Linked DNA regions of Homo sapiens: region 2 is linked to region 1. The links are contacts of gene promoters, found by promoter capture Hi-C in human tissues and cell types (Jung and others, 2019). All regions are on one chromosome and are shown on one strand. The core of a region is centred on a gene start or on the middle of the fragment in contact, and the rest is flanking DNA. Distances in the headings are between cores, read along the strand shown. Region 1 holds the start of PAGR1 (PAXIP1 associated glutamate rich protein 1). Region 2 holds the start of ATP2A1 (ATPase sarcoplasmic/endoplasmic reticulum Ca2+ transporting 1).

Region 1 (6,912 bases), core at 4,361-6,860:
CTCATGTTATCCTCACAAGAACCTGCAAGTTAAGAAATTTGCCCAAGAGCACACAGTTATCAAAGGACGGAGCCGGAAGTCCAACCTGGCTATAACTGTAGAGACCACAAACTAGGAGGCAGTGGCTTCTCAGGCAGAAACACAAAGATTCTAAGCCGAGAACAAGAACTAGAGGACCTGGGTGGGGCTGTGTACTGCCCAGATGGTGCTAATGGCAGTTCAAAGGTGAGTGTTTCCTGTAAGTTGGGCCAGCGCCCAGCCTCTGCTCCCCCAGAACCTGGGAGGGCAGCACCCAAGATAACCTGAGCACCCCGTTACCTTGGAGCCCTGAGGCTGTCTCTGGGCCACCCACTCAAGGTGGCCCCCCTACCTGCTCAAGGCTACATACAGAGGGCTGTCCTGCCCAAACAGCCACACCCGAGGGCCGACCCAGTGCTCTGTGTGCCAAGGGAGTTTCTGGCAGAGCCACCTGATACCCCACGTGACAGCTGGCCTCTCCCCCATCACCCAGGGGCTACCCAGGCAGAGAGCTGAGAACACAGGGGCCATCAGCCTCGCTATCACCTCCACCCCCAAGTGCTTGGCTCCCCAAGGGACAGCTCTAAAATCCCCAGAATCTCAGGCTGGTGGGTCCAGCTGAGCATCCTAGTTTTCACTTTCTCCTCCCAAAAAGGAAAGAACCTTGGTCACTAAATTCTACGCCTTCTGGAAATCACTCTGCTAATGACTTCCTGAATGATCGACTGAGACCAACAGCTGGCCCAGCCCTGCATGGAGGAGTAAGAAACCCTCATCTGTCAGAGTTAAGGGGCCTGAATGGGTACAGGTCACATTCTTGGAGCTCAAGGTGACAGGCCAGAGCCCAGGTCCCCAGGACAGTGCAGGTGAGTAGAGCAAGCACCGATCTAGGGCTAAGATGGGGTCTGAATGACCCTGTAAGGTTCCCCACCTGATTTCCCAGGTGGGACCCTGAAGTCAGAGAGAGGCCTGAGAGTTGCAGGGGGGTGGGGGACCGGTGTTGGTGTTAATCTGCCTTTACTTCAAAACCCAGAAGACTCCCAACTATTGGAAAGTGAAACCTCCAAAAGCAAAGCCACCACCCATCCTCCTTCCCCACTCTGATTCAGACATGTTTTCCCTGCCCCAGCAGAAGCAAGGCCCTTCAAAGCAAGACAGGACTAAAGAGAGCCTCAAGGGATACAAAGATCTGCCCCTGATTTGGGGTTTGGGGGGCTAGTACAATGTACTCACATCTAGAAGTGCAGGTAGCTGCAACAAACGCCTCAGATGGGGAACTCTCACCCTGCCTTGGGGATCACTTCCCGGCAGGGCAAGGCAGGCCAAGCCCAGGGGTGGGGCTTGGGAGTTAAAGGGCCCGTGTGCAGCTGGTTCTCATTTTATCCTCCGGGCTGCTTCTGCTGCAGCTGAAGGCACACTGCTCCCTGAGTGCTCATGGGTTTCTACCTTGGAGCCAGCTGGCTGCACTGGAGTGGGACTGGGAGGAGTTGGAGGGCCCGAGATGGGACAGGTGCTAACTGAGGGCACCTCTACCCATCTGGCTTTCATTTTCCAATCTGGGTGAGTACAATTCTGCCTCTCCCTTCAAGTGGGGCCTAACTGTTGAGCTACAGCTACAGCCCCTCCTTTTAAGAGATGATAGCTCTGCATCTTTTATTTCAGACTCAGAAAATTCAGTCCAGGTCTCTGAATAGGTGTTCAATAGAAAACACACACTCACACACTCTCTCTATATAGATGTTCAATAGAAAACACACACACTCTCTCTATAGGTGTTCAATAGAAAACACACACACACACTCTACAGGTGTTCAATAGAAAAAACACACACACACACTCACACTCTCTCTTCCTCTTTCCCGCAACGTGCTGTTTGGGAGCTTGAGGTTTCTCTCTTCTTCCCAAGTTTCTCAATGTCTGGGCTGGGGAAGGAGGGCCCAGGCTCCAGCAGGTACGGACACTGCACCCTAGAGGCAGGAGCAGTGGGAATCAGTATTTCCGCTGCCGAGGGAAGAGACTACTCCCGGAGGATCGGAGTGGGGGGCTGGCGGGGCTGGGGTCCTCCGAGTCCAGGCTGAAGAGGTCCCTCCCGGTACGAAGGATCTGCTCCTCCAGCTTCTTGTGTCTCTTCATGTCCGACAGCACCTTGTCCAGGCGGGCCTCCCGTTTCTGGCTCCGGGCTGAGCTTCCTGGAGAAGAGGAAGGTAAGATACATGGAAGGGATGGAGGTGGTGTACACCATACCTGCCTGGACCTCACTCATCACTTGGGGAGCTGGTTAAACATGCAGGTCCCCAGGCCTCTGTCTTGGAGGACCTGAGGTTCAGGGTTGGACCTCAGAGAGGGTGAGAAGCAAAGATCTTGATTGACAGGAAGGCACAGGTAATGTGAAGAACAGGGAGGAACATACTGGGCAGGGGAATGGCAAGGGTAGAGGCCCCAGGACAAGAACAGAGTTCTGTTCAAAGAAGAGTGCAGGCCGGGCATGGTGGTTCACGCTTGTAATGCCAGCACTTTGGGAGGCTGAGGTGGGCAACTCACGAGGTCAGGAGTTTGAGACCAGCCTGGCCAACACAAAAAATTAGCTGGGCGTGGTGGTGGGCGCCTGTAATCCCAGCTACTTGGGAGGCTGAGGCAGAAGAATCGCTTGAACCCGGGAGGTGGAGGTTGCAATGAGCCAAGATCGCACTACTGCACTCCAGCCTCGGTGACACAGCTACACTCCGTCTCCCCTACTCGCCAAAAACAAAAACAAAAAAAAGAGTGCAGAGAACTGGAGGTGGCGGGAAAAGCGCTTGGATTCTCCTTTGACATGCTCTTCCCTGGCAAGATGGAATCCCTTGGAAAATTTTAAGTGGAAAAGTGACACGATTTATGGCTGAGTGCAGCAGCTCACGCCTGTAATTCCAGCACTTTGGGAAGCTGAGGCAGGCACTTTGGGAAGCTTTAGGTCAGGAGTTCAAGACCAGCCTCGCCAACATGGCGAAACCCCCTCTCTACTAGAAAATACAAAAATTAGCTAGGCGTGGTGACGTGTCCTTGTAATCCCAGCTACTCAGGAGACTGAGGTAGGAGAATCGCTTCAACCCAGGAGGTGGAGATTGCAGTGAGCCAAGATCATGCCACTGCACTCCAGCCTGAGCAAGAGAAAGACTTCGTCTCAAAGAAAAAAAAAGTGATATGATTTATGTTTTAAAAGGTTCATCTGAATTGCAGAAGCTGGAAGCAGAGAGCCCAGTTAGGAGCTACTACAACTATCCAGGCAAGAAAGACAGTGGCTTGGATGGGGATGTGGTATTGAAAGTGGAGACTAGCAGAGGTACTTGGAAATGTACATCTTATAGCTACCAAGACTTGCTGCTGGTGTGAATGTTCAGGTAAAAGAGAGAGAAATCAAGAATGGCTCTAGGCTGGGTGCAGTGACTCATGCCTGTAATCTCAGCACTTTGAGAACCGAGGCGGATGGATCACTTGAGCTCAAGAGTTCGAGACCAACCAGTCTGGGCAACACAGCAAGACTCTGTCTCTCCACCCCTCAAAAAAAAGAAAAAAGGAAAGGCATGACTCTGAGGGTAAATTCTAGGAAGGCATGTGGGGTGGGAAATGGGGCCAGCGGTGTGATTAAAGAATGTACATGGTAGTAGAGGGATGCAGATCTAGATAATATTGAAAGGCCAGGACTTGGACTTCTGGGAATGGGAAACATGATAGAATTATCTGTAATTTTCCAGAATCAATGACTAGTTGTTTTTTTAAAAAAAGAATTATCTGTAATTGTGTTTTTTGAGACGGAGTCTCACTCTCTCGCCCAGGCTGGAGTGCAGTGGTGTGATCTCAGGTCACTGCAACCTCCACCTCCCAGGCTCAAGCGATTCTCCTGCCTCAGCCTCCTGAGTAGCTGGGACTACAGGTGCCCGCCACTATGCCCGGCTAATTTTTTGTATTATAATTGTCTCTTAAAGGAAGACAAGGGGCCAGGCGCATTGGCTCATGCCTGCAATCCTAGCACTTTGGGAGGCTGAGGTGGGCGGATCACAAGGTCAGGAATTCAAGACCAGCCTGGCCAACATGGTGAAAGCCTGTCTCTACTAAAAATACAAAAATTGGCCCAGAGTGGTGGCATGCGTCTGTAATCCCAGCTACTTGGGAGGCTGAGGCAGGAGAATTGCTTGAACCCAGGAGGCGGAGGTTGCAGTGAGTTGAGATCGTGCCATTGCACTCCAGCCTGGGGGACAAGGGCAAGACTCCATCTCAAAAAAAAAAAAAAAAAAAAAAGGAAGACAAGGTAGTAATCTAAGTCATAAAGATGGTGCTACTGGGTGAATACTCTCTCCTGCAGCTGTAAGTTGTGTGGGAGCTGAGGCAGCAAGCAAAGGCCTCTAGGGGAGCCGATCTTGGGTAACTGAGCCGAGGCCCTTCACCTCCCCCAACTGTTTCCTCTTCGTTTGTACCTGGGGTGCGTCTCCGGTCAATCAGGGAGTCCTTTGGTGTCACTGGCTCATCATCAAAATCAAATTCCGTGGGCATGTGTGGTCTGGGACAGGTGAACATAGTTAAGGGTGAGGGCGGTCCTCCCTCCCACCCACACGTGTGCTTCTCCCCTGCCCGTTCCTCCTCCCCCGCTGGCTTCCCTCCCTCCACTTTCAAAGGTTCCAGCGTCCCACATTTTCCCCTCCCTATTTCCTCCCGCCATCAGGGGAGCAGCCCCGGGACAAGGTGTAAGGGTGTGCCTTTACTTTTCCTCTTCCTCTTCTTTGGCCTCCGGCTCCTCATCGGATCTCTCCTCTTCGCTCTGGGCCTCCGGCGTGGGAGGCCGGCGGGGCAGGATCTCGGCTTGCAGCTCCAGAGTACCGTGGGCAGCCAGCAGTTCATAGAGCCGCTGGATTTCGGAGGGCGGGGGCATCCAGGGCTGCCCATCCGCAGGCAGCTCCACCTCCTCGTCGCTGCAGGGCACGCACCAGTCCTCGGAGTCCTCCTCGGCAGGCTCTTCTCCCCCAGCGCTGGGGACTTCTCCCTGCGCCTCCTCGCCCCCGGACCCCTCACGCTCGGTCTCCTCTCGGCCTCCTTCCCCCTCGTCCTCGGCCTTACCGGCCGAGGCAGAGGGGCCTCCGGTATCCTCCACGGCCAGAGCCTGGAGGCCGGAGGTCACTTCCCCTTCTTCAGACAGAGGCGCCGCCGTACTGGCCGCAGTGTCTCCATGGCCCCGAGCAAGGGACATAGGCCACTAGGGCAGGGACCCTGCGACGACAGATACTGGAGTCCGAAGCCAGGGTCCCCCAGGGATCGGGCTCCCCTGGGGGTTCGGGACCGTTTCCAGCCAATCACGCTCCCGCAGGGGACTCCGCGGCCAGACCGCCCGTCCCCGGGAGGGGGCGCTCAGTCCCCACCAAGGACCCCGCCCCGGAGATCGAGGTTCGGTACTCCGAGGCTCCCGGGCCCCGCAGAAACCACTTTCCGAAAGAGGGAAAGGGGGAGGAGAGGGACGGGCCACTCTTCTCGCTTCCACGACGCCCCTCTCCACACCCGGACACGGCGCCTTCTCCCCAGACCTTTCAGTTGTGGGCCACGTCAAGTCAGATGCCGTACGCACCTGGAGCTAAGACCCGCCTCCCAGGCTGCGCAGGGTCACGCTACGCAGGCGCACAGAAATGGCGCGGGAGGCTCCGCTCTAGGCAAGGCTACTTGGAAGAGGAAAGCGAGGGAAGGCTTGCACATGCGCGAGTAAGCGCACAGGCTTCAGCCCACAGTAAAGATGGCCACCGGGAAGTCGCATGCGTATACCACCCAGTAAGGTTCTGCCAGAAAGGCAGCACCGCCGGGCCGGCGGGACGAACGCAGGAACCAACCGAGATTGGAGGCGAGTCTCATGCAGTCTCCGTTTATTGGTGTTTCAGACTCATGCAGCATCCGGCATACAAAAAGGGAGAAATCAGTTTGATAATAGCCTTTTTTTTTTTTTTTTAAGAATTTTAGTTTTTTTCTTCCCCCAGACTTTTTTTTTTTTTTTTTTTTTTTTTTTAAGGAAAAAAACCCCCGCCAAATCCGAACCGCGTTGTAGCTCGGTCCCCGCCTCCTCAGCGGGCTGTCGCGTGCAACAAACCTCCCCCATCATCTTAGAAAATAATTATAGAGCGCGGCGCCCCGCCCTCGCTCCTGCCAGTGGGCGCTTTGGTCCTATTTTTTGGATTATTTCATTACGAAGCACGTGAATGAATCTAGCCCCCACACCTTCAAGAAAGAAACTCGCGGACTGGGGTTGAAAAGCCCAGGTGGGCGGGTCAACTCCAGCTGACCTGGAAGGGTCAGCGCCGCGTCCCTCCCTTCTCCCCTGCGTGCGTTCGGAACCAGTACTCGCCACCCTCACCCGAGTCCCCATACGAGGCCCGGCTTGCCAACTCTGCGACCTGCCAGGCACCCTTGGGTGTCCGACCCTGGGTGGTCCCAGCAGAGAACAGTCCGAGCCTGGGGTTGGGGAGCCCTCTCCCAACACTGCTCCCTGCCCCCAAGCCTCGTCTAAGTGCTGTCAATTTTGCAGAGTAAACGGTGACGGGAGGTTGGAGAAGAGGATGCTTAAGGGAGATGAGGAGGCAGGAAGAGGAAGGGGGCGGGACGTGGAGAGGAAAGGGGAGATGATAAAGAAGGGAAGGAAGAGAGGACTGAGGGTTGAGAGATGCCAAGACAATGAAAGTTGGGAGGAGGCGGCCAGGGTGGAGGTCCAGAGAATTTGGGGGGCTGGAAGAAGTGCAGGGAGGCCAGGAGAGATGCAGGGAGGCTGAGAGCGCAGAGTTGGGGAGGTGTTCAGGGAGGTTTCCAGAGTGCAGGGAGGTTTCCAGAAGTGCAGGGATAGGGGGCCAAGAGGCCGGAGGGGATGCAGGCATTAGTGCAGGGAGGTTG
Region 2 (6,912 bases), core at 2,823-5,322, 940 kb after region 1:
TGTCCCGAGCCTTGATCCTTTGCACTGACTTGCGGTCAGCCCGGTAGACCTTCCCCATCTCTGGCTCATACTCCTTCAGGGCCTCGATGGCGTTCTCTGCGTTCCGCTCCTGAGGAGACAGGGTGGAGGAGGCAGGGTTATACACAGGAGGCAGAGTTATGGAGTTGTGGCTCCTGGCACGGGGGAGGCAACAAAACCCCACACAGGCAGGGGTGTGTGTATGTTGAGGAAACTGTCACCTACAGGTGAAAACAGGTGAGAGGGTTTTGGGGAGGGAACAAAGAAGAATCAAAGAAAATCAGGCCGGGCATGGTGACTCACGCCTGTAATCCCAGCACTCTGGGAGGCTGAGGCAGGCGGATCACTTGAAGTCAGGAGTTCGAGACCAGCCTGGACAACATGGTGAAACCCCGTCCGTCTCTACGAAAAGTACAAAAAAAAAAAAAAAAAAAAAAAAAAGCCGGGCGTAGTAGCACGCGCCTGTAATCCCAGCTACTTGGGAGGCTGAGGCACGAGAATCACCAGAACCTGGAGGCAGAGATTGCAGTGAGATGAGATTACGCCACTGCACTCCAGCCTGGGCAAGAGAACGAGACCCTGTCTCAAAAAGAAAAATCTAAATAAAAAATCAAAGAAAATCAGAGGCTGCCCTGCAGATGCTGTCCTGGACCTGTCAGCACCACAGACACAGGTGGCTCTGCTGCGCCTGTAACACTGGGGCAAAGAGAAAGTGCTATTTCTCTCTTTTTTTTTTTTTTGAGACTGGGTCTCACTCTGTTGCCCATGCTGGAGTGCAATTGTGCAATCTTGGCTCACTGCAACCTCCGCCTCCCCATTCAAGTGATTCTCCTGCCTCAGCCTCCTGAGTAGCTGGGATTACAGGCACCTGCCACCATGCCCAGCTAATTTTTTTGTATTTTTAGTAGAGATGGGGTTTTACCATGTTGGCCAGGCTACTCTTGAACTCCTGACCTCAACTGATCCACCCGCCTCGGCCTCCCAAAGTATGAAAGTGGCTATTTCTATCCTCAGTGTTCAGAAACCAGTGAGCACCAAAAAATGGCTTATAGCCTGACATTTCTTAAAACCAAAGCAAGGTAGCATTTGGGTTTTCACTTTGGAAATGACCTAAAAACAAAACAAAACAAAACAAACCAGGAAGCAGAGGACAGGACATGTAGGGGGTGGTCAGGTCAGTGGAAGAAGGAAATCAAGCTAGCGTCTATTGAATTCCTACTGTGTGCCAGGAACATGCATCATCTTAGTCGATTTCACACTGGATTGCTAGCCCCATTTTATGGATGAAGAAACTGAGGCTCAGAGGGATGAAGGAACTTGCTCAGGGTCACATAGCCAGGAAGTGACAGTGGGTCACAGTCTCCCACCTCTTCCCCACACTCCATCCCATTCCAGACCAGGGGATAGGACCAGAGGAAGAGGCAAGTATGGGGGAGGTGATGGAGGAGGAGGAGACTGGAGGGAGGGTTGGCCTCTTCTTCACTGTTGGGACATGAAGGGGTAAGGAAGGGTCAACGCTAACCTGCCAAACCCCCACGATGGCATTGGCAATGAGGATCAAGAGGATGACAAAGGGTTCAACAAAGGCAGTGATGGTCTCTTCACCTTCCTCAAACCAGGCCAGCACCTGGGGAGCAGGGGAAAGGAGAATGACAGGTAATGAGGCCCCAAAACAGATGGAGAAAGGAAGTGGACCACTGCAAAGGGGAGAACTGTGCAGGAGAGTGCAGGAGCCAGCAGGAGGGCCGGGCACCGTCGGGGCGCTGTGGCCCCACATCCGTCTGAGGGTCTGTCCATCCACTGCAGGTCCTGCCACCGCCTTACTCAGCGGGATGGGCGCGCACAGACTTGCACCACTTGGGGGATTAGCTGGGAATGCTTTCAGGTTTCCCTGACCAAGCTGCTGGCTTAGAAGCGAAGCTCAGGCCAACCCCCCGCACAGCCACATCCATCCCACGGGAGCCAAAACCCGAGAGGAAAAACCCTGTGGTCTTCGCAGGCGGTCTGGCCCCCGCAGCCCTCCCCCTCGGCCAAGGCAGGGAAGCTCCGGTTTCACGAGGGAGCCGGAGCGGGGATAGGGTTACGGGGCCTCCTGCGCGCGCCCCGCCCCAGCTGTTGCCACCGCCAGGCAGCAGGCAAATGTCAAGGAGCAAATCTGAGAAGGGAGAGGAGAGGCCCTGCCAGCTTGTGCTTAACGCGACGGGGCCTGCGTTCGGAGACCAAGGCACAGGGAGGCTTTCGTTGCCTCCAGAGTCCCCAGCGAGGCTCACATGCTGCGGAAGAACCCGCGACATGCAGATGGACCGCGGGATGGGGAGTAGCCCCCAGGGCGGGAGAGGAGGCAGAGCCCTGGAGATGCCCTGCGGGGGTGGGGGTGCCTAGGGAGCGCGGGGAAGGGCTAAGGCCAGGCTGGGCGGGTAATGAGGGATGCCAGTGCCCTCCCTGACCGGGCGCCGGGCTCCTTGGAGTCATCATCACACCGCCGCGCTTTCCCGCCACTAGGAGCGAGTCCTCCCCTCGACCAATCAGCGTCAGGAGGCTGGGGAGGGCGGGGCAGGGGCGCCGACGGGCGCGGGGATTGGTGGAGCGGCCGTCCGCCCGGCGCATGCCGGGAGTGGCAGTGGCCCCCCGCGCCGCAGCCGGCATCGCGGCGGGACCCGGAGCCCGGAGTTCGGGTGGGTAACCCGAGCTCTCCAAGCTCTTGAAGCCGCGAGGGTGGCTTAGCTTCGGTGTTTTGGCTGAGAACACCCTTAAAGCTTAAAATAAAACCTGCCTCTGGGGTGCAGGGGAGGAGAGAGGAGGACGCGAATCACACCCGCTGCTGCGCGCCAGCCCGCCCCGTCTGTACAATGGGATGCTCGGGACTCGGACGGGAGGATCCAGTGACTGCGAGCCCCGCATTCGCCCGATCCCAGCCTCACACCCCCAGCCAGCCCCCAGAGACCCTCCCACACTTACGAAGGAAATGCATGCGGCCAGGAGGAGAATCCGCACCAGGAGGTCTTCAAACTGCTCTATCACCAGCTCCCACAGGGTCTTCCCTGGGGGAGGAGGCAAGGGGAGGGCCCCGGGTTAAGGTCTAGTGGGTGAAGGTCTGGGATGGAGCGCCCTGGACTCCGGCCTGCAGTGGGGAGGCTCTAGGGTGGTGGGCAGACAGCTTGGTGCCCAGAGAAGGGCTAAGAAGCTCGCCTGGAGTCCAGAAACAGACTCGGCAAAGTGGGGGGCAGTTCAAGGGTTGGCTGCTTCAAGGAGAAAGCGCCTGGGAGACTTCTGCCCCGGACAGGACTCTAACCTTTAGGGAGGGAGATTTGCCTTTTGGGAAGGGATATTTGCTCAAAGAATCTAAAGAGGCAGGGAGGAGGGAGTGGGACAGGGCGGGGTGGGGGGTGGTCATTTATGAGAGTTCAGGGATTCCAGTAACTTACCTTCCTCAGCAGGGAGCTCTACCCAGGAAAAAGAAGAAAAGGACAGATTCATTTGGGGTTCAGCCTCATGCCCCCCACACCCAAGACTTTGTGGCTAAGAGAATCAGGCCACCTTGAGGTTCATCAAGTTCATCCCATTAAAACCTCCCAAAACTCTGGATCTCGGGACTCTGTTTTCTCAGTATCTTCTTCCCCCTGCGAGCATTGGACAACGGCCCAGCTCTTCCTTAAGAAACCCTGAAGGGAGAAACGCGTGCATGCGTGTGCGTGTGTTTTGGGGGTGCAGGAGGGCATTAATTACCAGCCGCTCTTCCAAGGGACACTTACCATTGAGGCCGTATTTCTCCAGATTCCGCTTAACTTGGTCCGGGGTGAGGCCCGTGGTCTCACTCACCCCAAAATAGGCCAAACATTCCTCCGTGGTTTTAGCATGAGCGGCCTCCATTGTGCTCCCTTCCTGGGGGCCGGGGCCGGTGTGTTCCTTCCAGGGGGTTCCCACTCGTGGGGGGTCTTCCTCAGTGTGTCCAACTGCCTGTCTGCCTGGGTTTCTTCTTTTTACTCTCCTGCCCCCTCCAGGTTTTTCTTCCCTCCACAAAGCTCTGACCCCCGTCCCACTTGAGCAGCCGGCCACCCCCCGGCCCCCAGCTGGTCCTTATGAGGGAGCAGGGGGAGGCCGGGCTCCCCCCTCCACCAGATCAGGGATTGGCTGGCTGAGACTCCAGCAGGAGGTGGTCAGAAAAGAGAGATATTTCTGCTGACAGAGGGGGAACAGTGGGGCTGCAGCCTGAGATGTCACTCATGAGGGACGCAAAGGTAGCCCCAGCCCCAGGGAAGTGGGGTAGGGAGAGACTTCACTTTCTGTCATCTGCTACTGACCCTGCCCCCCCATTGCCTCGACTTCCCCAGCTGCATTGAATTTCCCATTCCAAACTCATCCCCCCAGTTCTTCCCGGAGCCCTCTTCCATCCCCGGCCTCACCTGTCCCTTTCCTCACACCCCCCTTCCTGCCTCATCTGCCCGGAGCCTGTTTCCATTGCCGCAGTCTCCTTCCTCCTCACCCCATTTGCTGAAGCAGTGGCAGAGATACCCCAAGCCTTTGGGGGACTGATGAAGGGAGAACATCTTTTGGGGGCTAGAGGAAGTGAGTGGCTCCTAGAGGGACAAGGGGAAGTGAGGGGAGAGAGTCAAGGGGACAGGGCCGAAGATGGTAACCCTACCCTAGGGAGGGGTTGCCACAGCCATCAACAAGGGATTTAGTGTCCAGGCCCTGGTGAGCAAAGCCAGCACTGCCTGTCTCTCCCCAAAACTGCCCCCCCCCTTCCCCATCGCTCTAACTCAGCCTCTGGGAACAGAGCCCTGAGGGCCCCCCCATCCTGGATAGGGAATCCCCACCCCACCCCCAAGAAAATGGGACACCAAGGCAGCCAAGTAACCCAAGAGGCTACAGAATGTGCTGATGGCAGAGGGGGAGGGGTAACTGTCTCAGGATGGGGGCAGGGGTCACCCCAAGTCGTGCACTGAGGGTCACCTCATCCCACACTGTGCTCTAACCAACGGGGTTTCTGTGGCCAGCCCCAGAGGCCTGTGGTCTGCGCTGCACTCTGCCCTGCTGCATCTGTCCACGAGGGGAACAGGATCAGGCCCATGCTGTGTGCGTGCAGGAGCTAGGCAGACCCCACAGAAAGGTGTCGGGGCCTGGGGAAGCTGGACCAAGCAGGGGCTCCAGACCAAAGGAATGGGGAAGGGTGGACTTCTGGGGACAGGTCTGGGGGAAATAAGGACAGATGTCTAGACCTAGGGGGAAAGGGAGCAGAGACACAGAGCCACCAGGGTCAGAGGGAAGTCCGAGCAGCAGTGGGGAAGAGGGACAGCAGGGAGCCAGGTGGGCGGGGACCCCGGCGCTGGGTGCAAAGCCACAAGTTGTTGCTGAATGCTGGCCTTGGTGTCAGCTTCCTCAGAGAAGCAGCTGCTCTGAGCTGCCCCTCCCCACCCCTGCTCCAGGATGGGGGCGTCTCTTGGTTACCACCAGGGCAGCTGCTGGAGGAGCCGAGGGAGGGTACCAGGGGTGCAGGAAGGGGAGGACAGGCAGGCAGAAAGGCTGGATGAGAGTCAGGGTGAAAGGTCAGTGAGGGGAAGGGGCCTGGTGCCCTGGGCTCAAGTCCGTCCTCTGTCTAGGCCTGTTTCCTGAAATGAGCAGAGGCATGTGGACTTCCTAAGTGTGGCTTCTTAAGGCTGCTTTCCATTCTGGGGCTCAAACTCCGAAGCAGAGGACAGAATAGGAGACAGCAGAGCAAAGAAAAGGGAGGCCCCCACTTTTGGGGAGGGGGATGGCAGCAGGGGTGGATGGAACTTGAGGGTTCAGCCTCCCAGATGCATCCCTTCTGCCTGGACTTGGGTGAGGCGCGGCCTCCTGGGTGAGTTGAGGACAAGGTGCTCCTTCCTGCCTCCTTTTCACAGTTCCAACAAACCCCTCCCCTGAAGCAGAATCCTGCTGTGACCTGAGGGGAGTGGGGGACAGTGGGCTGAATTGGGGGTGCAGGAGAGCATTAGCAGCCTCTCTTCCAAGAGACACAGCCCCCGGCACCTCCACCCGGCCCAGCACCCACCGTCTCCGCTGGACTCAGGCTCACACCCGCCAAGGCTTTTGGCGCTGGCCGGCGTCTCCCCACCGGCACCTGGAGGAGTGACAGGGGCTACTGTCTTACAGCAGTGGGAATGCCCAAACATGGAGAGGGGCAGACGGAGAGATGGGCAGCTTCGAGGGAGTCGAGAGCCTGAGACAGAGGGCAGGGGGCAGGCTTGGCAGCACATTCCTGCCAACAGGCCTTTAAGGTTATTCATTTCTACCTCCCCCGGCTTCCCAGAGGGGGAAACAAGCCAGGGAGGGAAAGCCACCCGCCAGGAGCTGCAGAAGGGCTGCTCTAGGGAAGGCTGTGGGTGTGAACTGCCATGGAGGGAGGCTGAGCCAGAGGCGCCCTCGGGGATCCCTTCCCACAGGGGTCTCCACGCCCAGGGATGGAAAGTGATCCTCCTGTCACACCTGAGGGCTGGAGCTAAAAGCATGGGACACAGAGACACCCTGGCCAGTCCCTGATGAGTGCAGAACTTCGGTTTAACCATCTGTAAAGAAAGGCTTAGAGGGAAAGTCTCTCAGGCCCCAACAGCCAAGACATGCTGGTCTGAGGAGTGGGTGGGTGTCCTCGTCCCCCTCCCCTGCCCATCTTTGGAAGGCAGGTCCCTGAAGGCTGGCAGGGCTGGGGGAGGGGGAGCCTCAGAGCACCAGTTGCTGCTGGAAGATTAGGAGGGGATCAGGCCCTGCTTACCTCGGGGCACCACAGCCTTCACTGGCCATCTCACTAAGAACCCAGCACCCGGCTCTCCAAAGCTTCCCCCACTTTCAAGGCCGGTCCTATCCCCAGTCTCCTGAGGCCAAGGTTTGGGGAGCCCCAGAAATTAGAGCAAGCAGGAG

Evidence for each region. The method cuts DNA at HindIII sites, captures the fragments that hold promoters and counts their contacts. A contact is called where the count stands out against the background at its distance.
Region 2: the fragment with the promoter of ATP2A1 here is called in contact with the fragment with the promoter of PAGR1 in region 1 in 1 of the 25 tissues and cell types used here (dorsolateral prefrontal cortex).

Annotation. Positions count from the first base shown.
Region 1 is chr16:29,814,850-29,821,761 of GRCh38, reverse strand. It overlaps PAGR1 (PAXIP1 associated glutamate rich protein 1), which reads right to left and starts at 5,610. Exons shown (of 3, transcript NM_024516.4): 1 at 4,755-5,610; 2 at 4,470-4,552; 3 at 1-2,207. The coding sequence starts at 5,236. The coding sequence ends at 2,008. PRRT2 (proline rich transmembrane protein 2) reads right to left here. Exons shown (of 4, transcript NM_145239.3): 4 at 5,881-6,912. It overlaps MVP-DT (MVP divergent transcript), which reads left to right and starts at 1,395. Exons shown (of 4, transcript NR_186424.1): 1 at 1,395-1,578; 2 at 2,161-2,222. MVP (major vault protein) reads right to left here and starts at 1,300. Exons shown (of 15, transcript NM_005115.5): 1 at 1,252-1,300. RefSeq lists enhancers at 577-866, 329-895, 5,659-5,908, 6,159-6,378, 6,271-6,900 and 1 more and a silencer at 5,299-5,468. The HindIII fragment of the contact is 8,731 bases long and covers 1-6,912 here.
Region 2 is chr16:28,875,648-28,882,559 of GRCh38, reverse strand. It overlaps ATP2A1 (ATPase sarcoplasmic/endoplasmic reticulum Ca2+ transporting 1), which reads right to left and starts at 4,072. Exons shown (of 23, transcript NM_004320.6): 1 at 3,771-4,072; 2 at 3,444-3,461; 3 at 2,977-3,059; 4 at 1,541-1,645; 5 at 1-109. The coding sequence starts at 3,888. It overlaps ATP2A1-AS1 (ATP2A1 antisense RNA 1), which reads left to right and starts at 2,639. Exons shown (of 2, transcript NR_046290.1): 1 at 2,639-3,018; 2 at 3,456-3,603. RefSeq lists silencers at 2,423-2,772, 2,793-2,842 and enhancers at 2,913-3,686, 4,932-5,021, 5,032-5,101. The HindIII fragment of the contact is 3,605 bases long and covers 1,197-4,801 here.